Regions from separate parts of the Homo sapiens genome. Here all the other regions are linked to region 3. Evidence: promoter capture Hi-C in 16 types of primary human blood cells and fetal thymus (Javierre and others, 2016). All regions are on one chromosome and are shown on one strand. Each heading gives the region's core, a stretch centred on a gene start or on the middle of the fragment in contact. The rest is flanking DNA. Distances are from core to core; before and after follow the strand shown. Region 1 holds the start of LOC124903555 (a long non-coding RNA gene). Region 2 overlaps CRTC3-AS1 (CRTC3 antisense RNA 1). Region 3 holds the start of CRTC3-AS1 (CRTC3 antisense RNA 1).

The links. Contacts are between HindIII fragments. The CHiCAGO score rates a contact against its expected background, and 5 or more counts as called.
Region 1: a fragment that was not itself captured here is called in contact with the fragment with the promoter of CRTC3-AS1 in region 3 in 1 of 17 cell types (erythroblasts); the score reaches 5.0 in erythroblasts.
Region 2: a contact is called between a fragment that was not itself captured here and the fragment with the promoter of CRTC3-AS1 in region 3, in 2 of 17 cell types (megakaryocytes and erythroblasts). The highest score is 6.8, in megakaryocytes.

Annotation. Positions count from the first base shown.
Region 1 is chr15:90,595,320-90,598,820 of GRCh38, forward strand. All of the region lies in intron 3 of CRTC3 (CREB regulated transcription coactivator 3), which reads left to right. It overlaps LOC124903555 (a long non-coding RNA gene), which reads right to left and starts at 659. Exons shown (of 2, transcript XR_007064758.1): 1 at 572-659. RefSeq lists enhancers at 641-710, 2,878-3,172. The HindIII fragment of the contact is 4,338 bases long and covers 1-3,501 here.
Region 2 is chr15:90,649,888-90,653,055 of GRCh38, forward strand. The region is part of intron 2 of CRTC3-AS1 (CRTC3 antisense RNA 1); the gene reads right to left. Among named protein-coding and RNA genes, the nearest start is that of LINC01585, 8.8 kb to the right of the region's middle. The HindIII fragment of the contact is 3,094 bases long and covers 1-2,980 here.
Region 3 is chr15:90,715,344-90,718,668 of GRCh38, forward strand. It overlaps CRTC3-AS1 (CRTC3 antisense RNA 1), which reads right to left and starts at 1,797. Exons shown (of 4, transcript NR_120372.1): 1 at 1,638-1,797. BLM (BLM RecQ like helicase) reads left to right here and starts at 2,003. Exons shown (of 22, transcript NM_000057.4): 1 at 2,003-2,097. The HindIII fragment of the contact is 2,609 bases long and covers 1-1,997 here.

The sequences.
Region 1 (3,501 bases), core at 522-3,021, 120 kb before region 3:
CCCAGCACTTTGGGAGGCCGAGGTGGGCAGATCACGAGGTCAGGAGATTGAGACCATCCTGGCTAACGTGGTGAAACCCCGTCTCTACTAAAATTACAAAAAATTAGCCAGGCTCGGTGGTGGGCACCTATAGTCCCAGGCTGAGGCAGGAGAATGGTGTGAACCCGGGAGGTGGAGCTTGCGGTGAACCGAGATCGCGCCACTGCACTCCAGCCTGGGCAACAGAGCGAGACTCCGTCTCAAAAAAAAAAAAAAAAAACCAATGTATATTTTTTCAGTTCTCAGTTCCCTCTTTTTCCTGTCAGTGCTCTCATTTCTATATATTAGATTAAACATTATGCTATATATACGTGTGTGTATGTATATGTGGCTATCTCAGATACTTTTGAAGTACGGTCTAAATGTATAAGCATGCATATAGTTTTACTAACCAAAATAGAGAAGGGAATTGAAGAAAAAAGAGGAGAATGTTTATTCACTTATAAAAATTATTTGTTAAGTATGTGCTAGTGGTCAGACACCGTTTTAGACATTTTAATTCACTGTAACAGTAAACAGCATGGTCCCTGACCTCAAGTTGCCCAGGGTTCAGTGGGAGAGGCTACTCAGCAAACAAGCAGCCACGGCAGGTATGGCGTCTGCAGGGAGGCAGCTCAGGGGCTGTGGGAGCACGTCGGAGGTGCAGCTTGAACTAGTCTGGGGAAACGAAGAAGGCATCCTGGGGGAACATCTGAGGCTTGAAGGATAAGAAGTAAGAGGATAAAGTGTTCATTCAGCAGATCTTTACAGAGCCCCGTCTCTGTGCCAGGCACTGTTCTAAGCACTGGGGACCCAGTGATGAATAAGGGAGGCATACTTCCTGCTTTCTTGAGTTCACAGTCCTGTGGGAGATGACAGCAAACAGGCAATAAGAAAGGAAAATGGTTTTAGATGGTAATGAGTGAGATTTAAGAGAGTAAAGCAGTTGGGAGGTATGTTCCAGGCAGAGGGAAGAGAATGTGGTGCAAAGTCCTACCCAGAAGGGGAGATGACTTCTTGTGTTCAGGGGACCCTATCTCTTATGATAGGGTATAATCTGGCACTGTATGGATCAACTTGAGAGCATAAGCAAAGCTAGTCAACTCCTAAAGGAAGGAGAAACAAAAACCAAGTTAATATGCAGAGAAATTAAAGTTATTAGACAGTATGAGTCAGATTCACTGATCATGAGCCATGTCTCTGTGGTCTCCTAAGCTCCTAAATTGGGTTCCTGGGACTGGACATCGGTTGATGCAAAGAAAGTTCTTTAGCCCAGTCTCTTTTGAGGAATCAAGGGTCCGTGAAATGGGATGATTTTATTTTGGTGTTAATCTATTCCACTTGGAGGAGGAGGGCTGTGATTCCGTCTTTGCTTTCACGACCTGCATTCTGTTGGTTGTGAAATAATCTGCTTAAAATTGTGGCCTTGAACATTTGTCTATGACTTTTTAAATGAAGTTTCTTCATTTGAAAGTATAAAACACTAGTTTGAATCTTTGTTAGAACAAAAGGAAAAAATCAGAATTATTATAGCTGTTTCTTGGCTTGGGTGTTATTTAAGACACACTGGCTTAGACAAGGGTTTTAAGGGTTCACTCCTATGATAGGGTGATCTCAAATAAAACGAACATTGTTTAACAAATACTCTGGCCTCCTCTCAGAGTGGGCAGCCACAGCACGCAGAGCTCTGCCACAGGAGATTCCTTCTGGAGTGGGCTTTGCCCTTGGCATGGGTGGCCACACAAGACCAAGGCACAGCTGCAGCTGGGCCCTGGCCTAGCCCCACACAGGCGGAGGAGAGGCACTGCCAGGGCTTGCTCCTGGCTGGGGGCCTGGGCTCGGGCACTTGGAAGAGAAGCTCTTCTGCCCTTCTGCAGATGTGCAGTCTGTAGCAGCCCTTCTTACTCTCACTCATCAAGGTTGGCAGACGTGCCGTGTCCCAAACACCATTGCTAAACTTCTGAACTATTAACATAAATTTATAGCAAATAAAATATTTTCTCAGCCTTGTGGATGACACGCTCAGAAGGAAACACGAAATGCCTTCCTTGAAAGGAAGTCAAGAGTTCACCAGCGTGAAGGGTCGTGAAGAGATGCCTAAGACCTACTAGAGTTAGGAATGATTCTCCTCTCTGGGCTGGGCCTTGCTTTGATTCTTTTCATCATAATGAGATGAAAATGTTAGGACATTGGTTTATAGGACACTGTTTCTTTGAGATGCATGGCCTATTACATTTGAGAAACACCATACTCTGTATCACCTCTTGGAGCCTGACCGTATATATCAGGGCTCTGAAAAGTCCTGCAGTTAATAAACTTCTTATCTTTAACCCAGAATTTCAAAACTTAAGTGATCACAAAATCCAACTGTTACCTAACACCCGTCTTATCTTGAAGGACAAGGAAACATTGGTCTTTAGAATTTTAAGGGGGAAATATTCTGACTTCACAATACCACATGCAACCTGTTTGCCTCTCATTTGCTGAGGGAAACAGGATGTTCTTATAAATGCAAGGACTCAAAAAGATGCCACTCATATCCTCCCTTACAGTTTCACTTTAAGATGTCTTCTAGTGGGACATAGTTAGAGGTAAAGGGACAAAAAGAAGTAGAATGACAATAAACACATGGCTGAGCAATCAGGAAGGAGCCAAATTGTGGCCAGTTTTATATATTAAATCTGACCCTGAAACTTGTCTTGGTAGGTGGGTTCTGTTAACCAGACTCCGAGCCCACTTACCCCACCAGCTACATGGAAGGTCTCAGGCCTGCCCCACAAACTGTGTCCCTGGCAGAACACAGAGTTCCAGAGCAGGAGAGAAATGACTGGCTTCCAGGCTGCCCCGACAAGGCAGTTCCTGAGCCCTGCCCAGGTACACTGACCGCACAGGGACGGGAAGCCAAGAGAAGGGAACCCTGGGCCTGCTCACCCAGCCGCAGGTCAAGCAGCACAAAGAAAGGGCCAGGGCGGGTCTTGTTTTCAGCTTCTGTGGCTCAGTAACCCCACCCACTGGTAAACTGGCCAACTGATGTCCTCTCTTATCAGAAGAAGAAGAGCTGCTCCCCTTCCTTTGGTGAAGAGTAAGAACTGTTCCCTCTAACACTCCACAGGTTGAGAGGAACAGCAGTCCCTGTGTTGATGGATTGAGGCAGTAACTCGAGGAGGAAGATTTTCCTGCACAGAACTGCAGAGGCTTGGGGAGAGAGAGAACACACTGGGATGACTCTGAGATCCTAACATGAGTGTCTTGGTGGACGGTGGCCTCACTAAATGAGATGGACTATAAGAAGAGGAACAGATTAAGGGGACAGTGATTGGTTGGATTTTTGGTAGAATTTGAGCTGTCTTGGGTACTTTTGGCAGAGAACTTGAGTAGGCAGTTGGAAGTATGCACTTGGAGTTCACAAAAGAACTGTTGGGAGCTGGAGGTGTCGATTTATGAGTTACTGGACTGTGGGTGACAGTGGGGCCGAGGGAAGGA
Region 2 (3,168 bases), core at 184-2,683, 66 kb before region 3:
CATGGCTGACACCCAGGAAACATGGATGGAGACATCTCTCTACGCACATATTCAAAGGAGTTTTTTTAACCAAAATGGGCTCATACAATACATACTCTTTTTAGAAAAAGTGCCATACTTAAATTTAACAGAACAAAAGGCAACTTAAATGTAACTAAAGAAATTACCAAGCTGCAAATAATGACGCTGCTTCTTCTGGTTCTAAATTATTTCTCTAAAGGAAAGAAAAATATTAAGCAGCTGGATTCATTCTTTCAGCATGTTTCAACTATAGATGGCATCTCTTGACAACCTACGATTTAGGATAAGGAAATGAGCTCACCACCACTTCCTAGCTCCTTCCCCCTCCCAAATTTTGTGAGTTCGTGTTTTTACATTGTCAAGGTTTATACTACTTACATCCTGTCCTGTAACCATCGTTCCCACCATTGTTTGGCCTGTTGTGTGTGTATGGATTCCCTGTTCCACCGCCTGTCCTTCTAGAATGGGTTTTTCCATTCTTGGGTTATTTTCCTTCACCTCATGGCTACCTTGACTTTGTCATCAAGGAGTCTTTTCAAGGTCTGAGTTGGTCACAGTCACAGGGATGTCACTGCTGGACTGCAAGGTTGGAGACTGAACTCTGAAATGGGAGTGAGTGGGCTATATAACTGACTCAGGCTCGATGGAATTTACAGGAAAGGGACAAAGCACTGTACCCTCCATTACGATGACTTGCTAAAAACCACTGTGTCTTGAACTTGTATCTGGTGACACAGAGTTGAAGTTTTAGAATTTGGAAATAAAATGACTGGGGTGGGGTCCCAAGTACTGTGTTCAAGGAAAGGACATGCCAGGCTGCGGGACCTCAATGCCTCCTCCCCATCAACCCTTTGACAGCTGTGCCCTATCCCACCTTGGAGGCCAAAGCAACTCCCTCCTGGGTGCTAATGCGTCATGTTGACTTCTGATTAACCCCACTTCCAGGAATGCCTTTAAGATTTCTACTTTTATCTACTGTTAAGAGCACACACTTACTGTAAATATGTTATTATAAACACTGTAAATCTGTATCATAAAACTGTGGTGCTGTAAACACTATAAATATGTTATCATAACCCTATGGTATATATGCCCTGGGTCTCGGGGGGGCAACAATGTGGGGATCCACCATCTCCTGGCTGCCCGAGACATGGCTTTTGTTTCTAAGTCCCTATTAAATGTTCCTAAGCAACTGGATTTGTCAGCCTCTGTGTTCAGCCTCTCAGCTCCCTCGGCCTTTGGGATTAGGTTTGCATACACCTGCTCACCGTGCAACACCCATCTTCACTTAGAAAAATCTAACTTCTCCTTCCAGGCCTAGGTCAAGTGACACCTCCTCTGTGAAGCCTTCTGTGAGGTTTGGATTCTCATTTGCAAATATTTACTTCCCTCCCCTCCTACTGTGGGATCTCTAGGCTCTACCCCCCCATTTTTAAAAAGATTTCCCATCCGTCTAGGTGTCTCCCATCTACTTGACCCCCAAGCCCAGAAAACAGGCACCCGCAGACCTAATGGCAGGCCTTGCCAGCTGCCCCCAAGCCCCTTTGCCCTCGGGCTCGGCTACGTGATTTGCTTTGGCCGGTGACATGCTGGAGATACGACCAAACAGCAAAGCCTTGACATGGGGTCAGGAGGCCTTGGAGCCCGGCCCACTGGGTTCAGGCCCTTGCACCTTGACATGGGCTCGGTGACACGGCTCACCCTCTTGTGCTTCTGCCATTGCCACTAGCACAGCTACTCCCTGGGTAGCCCATTGGTCCCAGAAGAATGAGAGACAGGACAGACCTTAACCAAACCCATGCCCAGGAGCCATCTAGCCAGGTCCGGCTGAAATCGGCAGGGCTGCCCCAGAAATCTACAGACACGTGAGCCAAAGATAAACGCTGAGAGTAGTAAGCCACTGAATTATGGCCATTTGTTACACAGCATATATGTGACAACAGTTGACTGATACACCACCTCTGTTCATTTCCCTTTGTGCTTGAGTTGCACTTGATTTCCACGGCTTTACTTTTTTTTTTTTTTTTTTTTTTTTTGAGACTGAGTCTCGCTCTGCCACCCAGGCTGGAGTGCAGTAGTGCAATCTCAGCTCACCGCAAGTTCCACCTCCCAGGTTCACGCCATTCTCCTTCCTCAGCCTCCCGAGTAGCTGGGACTACAGGCGCCCGCCACCACGCCTGGCTAATTTTTTTTTTTTTTTTTTGGTACTTTTAGTAGAGACAGGGTTTCACCATGTTAGCCAGGATGGTCTCAATCTCCTGACCTCGTGATCCACCCACCTCGGCCTCCCAAAGTGCTGGGATTACAGGCGTGAGCCACCATGCCTGGCCAGCTTTACTGTTTTAACTGTAGAGCTGATTTTGTGGTAGAGCGTTTGCCTTCCCACTGGTCTATAAGAAACGTGACATAAGGACTACGTCTGATTCGATTCTGACTCCCCAGCACCCAATTAAATGGCAGCCAATGTCATTCTTTTTTTTGGAAACAAGGTCTTGCTCTGCTGCCCAGGCTGGAATGCAGTGGCATGATCTTGGCTCACTGCAACCTCTGCTTCCCAAGTAACTGGAATTACCAGCACGTACCCCAACACCCAGCTAATTTTTGTATTTTTAGTAGAGTCAGGGTTTCGCCCTGTTGGCCAGGCTTGACTTCCCGGCCTCAAGTAATCTGCCCGCCTTGGCCTCCCAAAGTGATTACAGGTGTGAGCCACCACACCCGGCCAATGCCATTCTTTTCATCCTTTCCATCTGTACCTTTCCAGGACAGCCCAGTCCGGGTGGAGAGGCAAAGGTCTCTGTTTCCGGAAGGCCCAGTCTGGATGGAGAGGCAAAGGTCTCTGTTTCCAGGACTTACCTGCAAGTTTGGGCAAGAAAGTTCAAAAGCCCTGAGCTTTGGTTCCCATGACTGTCCATATGGCTCATTTGCAGCGACTCCTGGACTCCTGTTTCTCCCCCATTCAAGCTTCAGATTCCTAGGAGAGAACACTGACCCAGCCAGCATGACATGGGGACCGGGTTACACTGGCCTGGCTTTTGGAAGGAGAGGGGCCCGGCAGCCACAGCTTGCGTGGCTTCGTTTGCAGCCAGTAAGACGGTCTCTGGGAGGTTGCAGAGGTTGTTAGAGGGAAGCAGCGCTTATATAGAAGCC
Region 3 (3,325 bases), core at 547-3,046:
AATACAAAAAGCTAGCTGGGCATGATGGCGGGTGCCTGTAATCCCAGCTACTCGGGAGGCTGAGACGGGAGACTCTATTGAACCTGGGAGATGGTGGTTGCGGTGAGCCGAGCTTGCGCCACTGCACTCCAGCCTGGGCGGCTGAGTGAGACTCCGTCTCAAAAAAAAAAAAAAAAAAAGAAATGCAAATTGTTTTCAGTAGAATGCAATTGATTACTAAGCTGTGGATTTCATCAGTTCTGCCAGTTTTTGTATATATTTGTAGTTATTTCATTATTCCTCATTTGACTATGTGTGTGGTACTTTGAATTTTCCATTGAAGCAGTTGTAATCTTTCTGGATATCTCATTCATTAATGAGTTAAATAAAATCTCTAACATTTATTTTATATCTGTATTATATTTGATATTAAAATTATTCTTCAACAGTAGTATACAGTTATATGAATAAGCTGCAATTTATCTATTCATCTATTGGTGGACATCTGGGTTTTTTCCCTTTGGCTATTATGAATAAAGCTGCTATGAGTCTTTTGGTGAATAAAGGCATTCATTTTTTGGGGTAAATATCTAGAAATGGGATTTCTGGGGTATAGGGTAGGGGTAAATTTGATTTCAGTAGAGACTGATGTTTCCAAAGTGGTTGTACCATTTTACACTCCCATCAACACTGTATGAGAGTCCCATTTCTGCATCTTTGCAACTAAGGGAATTGTCAGTCTTTTCATTTCAGCTATTCTATGGAGTGTTTAATAGTATCATATTTTGGTTTCAATTTACCATAGAAGATTTTCAGGAGGGAGGTAACTTGAACAGATTTTTACATTTTAGAAAACTCTTTCTGCGTATTATGTGGAGAATGATTATTTGTATACCAAAGTTCATAGCAGCATTATTCACAATAGCCAAAAGGTGGGAATAACCAAGCATCCATTTATATGGATGAATGGATAAACAAAATGTAGTATACATGTATAATGGAATATTATTTAGCCTCAAGAAGGAAGAAATTCTGATACATGCTACAACATAGATGCTCCTTGAAGACATTATGCTAAGTGAAATAAGCCAATCAGAAAAGAGCAATTATTGTATGATTCAATTTATATGCGGTACCTCGCACTTACAGACAGAAAGTGCAATATCGGCTATAAGGGGTTGTGAGAAACGGGTAACGGGGAGTTACTGTGTAACAGGCAGATTTTCTATTTGGGATAATGAAAAAGTTCTGGAGATGGATAGTGGTGATGGTTTCACAACAATGTGAATGTACTTAATGCCAGTGAACTGTACACTTAAAAATGGTGAATTTTATGTTAGATAGATTTTATCACACACACAAAGAGGAGGGAGGGCGGGAGGGAAGGAGAGAGGGAAGGAAGTAGAGAGGGGAGAAGAGAGGAAGAAAGGAAAGAAAGTAAGATCTGGCATCACAGGGCCCACATTCCCGCGTGTCAGCAATAGGCTGAAACAGAAGCATGGTTTCTCACGTGTCCATGGAGGCATCTGAGTGTGTGCCCACTTTCCCGGTTCAATGACAATTTGCACCTGCTCGTGTAGAGGGGTACGGGTGAAACAGAGACCAGTATTATTAAGGGGATGGAGAGGAGAGACCGCCAAAACATCGCAGAGACACACCGTCGGAACCAAGAGAATGGGGTGCAGACGCCTGGCTTGGCCTGTGGGAACTGGCAAGTCTCAGCTCTCAAACGCCCGGGCTTTTCAACCCGCCACAGCCGGGTTCCAGCTGCCTACTTCCTTTAAAGCCTTCACCGACTCTAAAACACCAAAAACAAAGACCCAACTAGCTCCGGAAGCCCGAGATGTAACCGTAGTCATCTGACCCTCCCGTCCGGACTCTGATTGGGCTTTGGAGATACGCGTCCCTCCCGGCGCTGTACGGCGACCCCGCCCCAGCAGCCTGAGGGGGCGGGAACAGATGTCCGAGTGCGACAGTATTGGTCGGCTTCCCCAGGAAGCAGCCAATCGGAATAGGCAAGCTTCCGGCGGGAAGTGAGCCAGGGCTTGGCGCGGCGGCCGTGGTTGCGGCGCGGGAAGTTTGGATCCTGGTTCCGTCCGCTAGGAGTCTGCGTGCGAGGTGAGTACCGCGCGCGTAACTACGGGTCGGTCCGCATTGATCTAGCCCTGCTCTGGCGGCCCGGCCCGGAGCTGGAGGCCGCTCGGGTTCTTCCGTTTCCTGCACTGGTTCGCCTCGGCCCGCTGAGTCCTCTAGTCTGGCCAACATCCTGGGAGGACAGCAGATACATAAATACGTTCCCAAATGGGGAAACAGAGGCCCGGGGCGGGGGCGAACTCTGCCAAGGTCTCCCGGGGCGTCGGAGGCCGAGCATGGGCTAGGACCTGGCATGTTGTTGCCCATATACTCCAGTGCGTAACATGATGCCCTGCACAGAGTAATCCCAGCCCAGACCTCTGGCACTACTACCTCCGTGTCCCTCCTGAGGAACAACGAAAACACTTTGTACTTTTTCTGTGGCCTTCCATAATCACGAGCTGGGCTACTCTTGTTTTTGAGTGTCTACTGTGTGCCATGTTCCTGGCACCCTTGATCTTACAACTGTAGCTTTACGATATCCCAGCAAAGCGAAGTGCTTAAGAATACTGCATCAGATTGCTTGGGTTCGAATTCTGGCTCCTTCACATTTAGCTCTGTGTCTACTGCACGTTACTGAAACACTAAGTGTCTTGGTTTTCGTCTGTCATATGGGGGAAATGGTCTCTTCTACTTCCTGGCGTTTTTGTTAGGATTAAACGACTTAATATATGCAATAATAAATGCTTCGAAGGCTACCTGTTACATAGTACACAGTAAGGGTTCTGTTATCATTACCCAGAGAAGCGGATGAAATTGTCCCCATTTTAGACATGGAGAATCTGAAGTACAAAGAGGTTGTCTCCGTACAGAAAGAGCATTTGGTGATTAAGTGCTAGAGATACAGGATTTGAACTAAGCGCCTGATTTTAAAGTATGTCCCACAACATTAGGCTTTCTCCTATAGCCCTCACCTGTCCTTAGGTCACACAGAACTTTAGGTACCTCATGGCGTGAGATGGAGCAGGTGACTGACAGCTCCTTGTGCCACCCATGCAGATAAATAACACTGGTGTGTCACTGTCAAGATTAAGGGACAGGAATTCGAGAGACTGCATGAGAGATCAGAAGATGAAGAAGCGGGTAGGCAAAAGTATTCTGTTTGGGGAATAGTAAATAGAATTAATTAAATCAACATTTTGTTAGCTGGGCTGCTTATACTGTCAGACAGTAGCTTATAATCTACTGGGAAGAAATGAAATTTCTGGGTCCT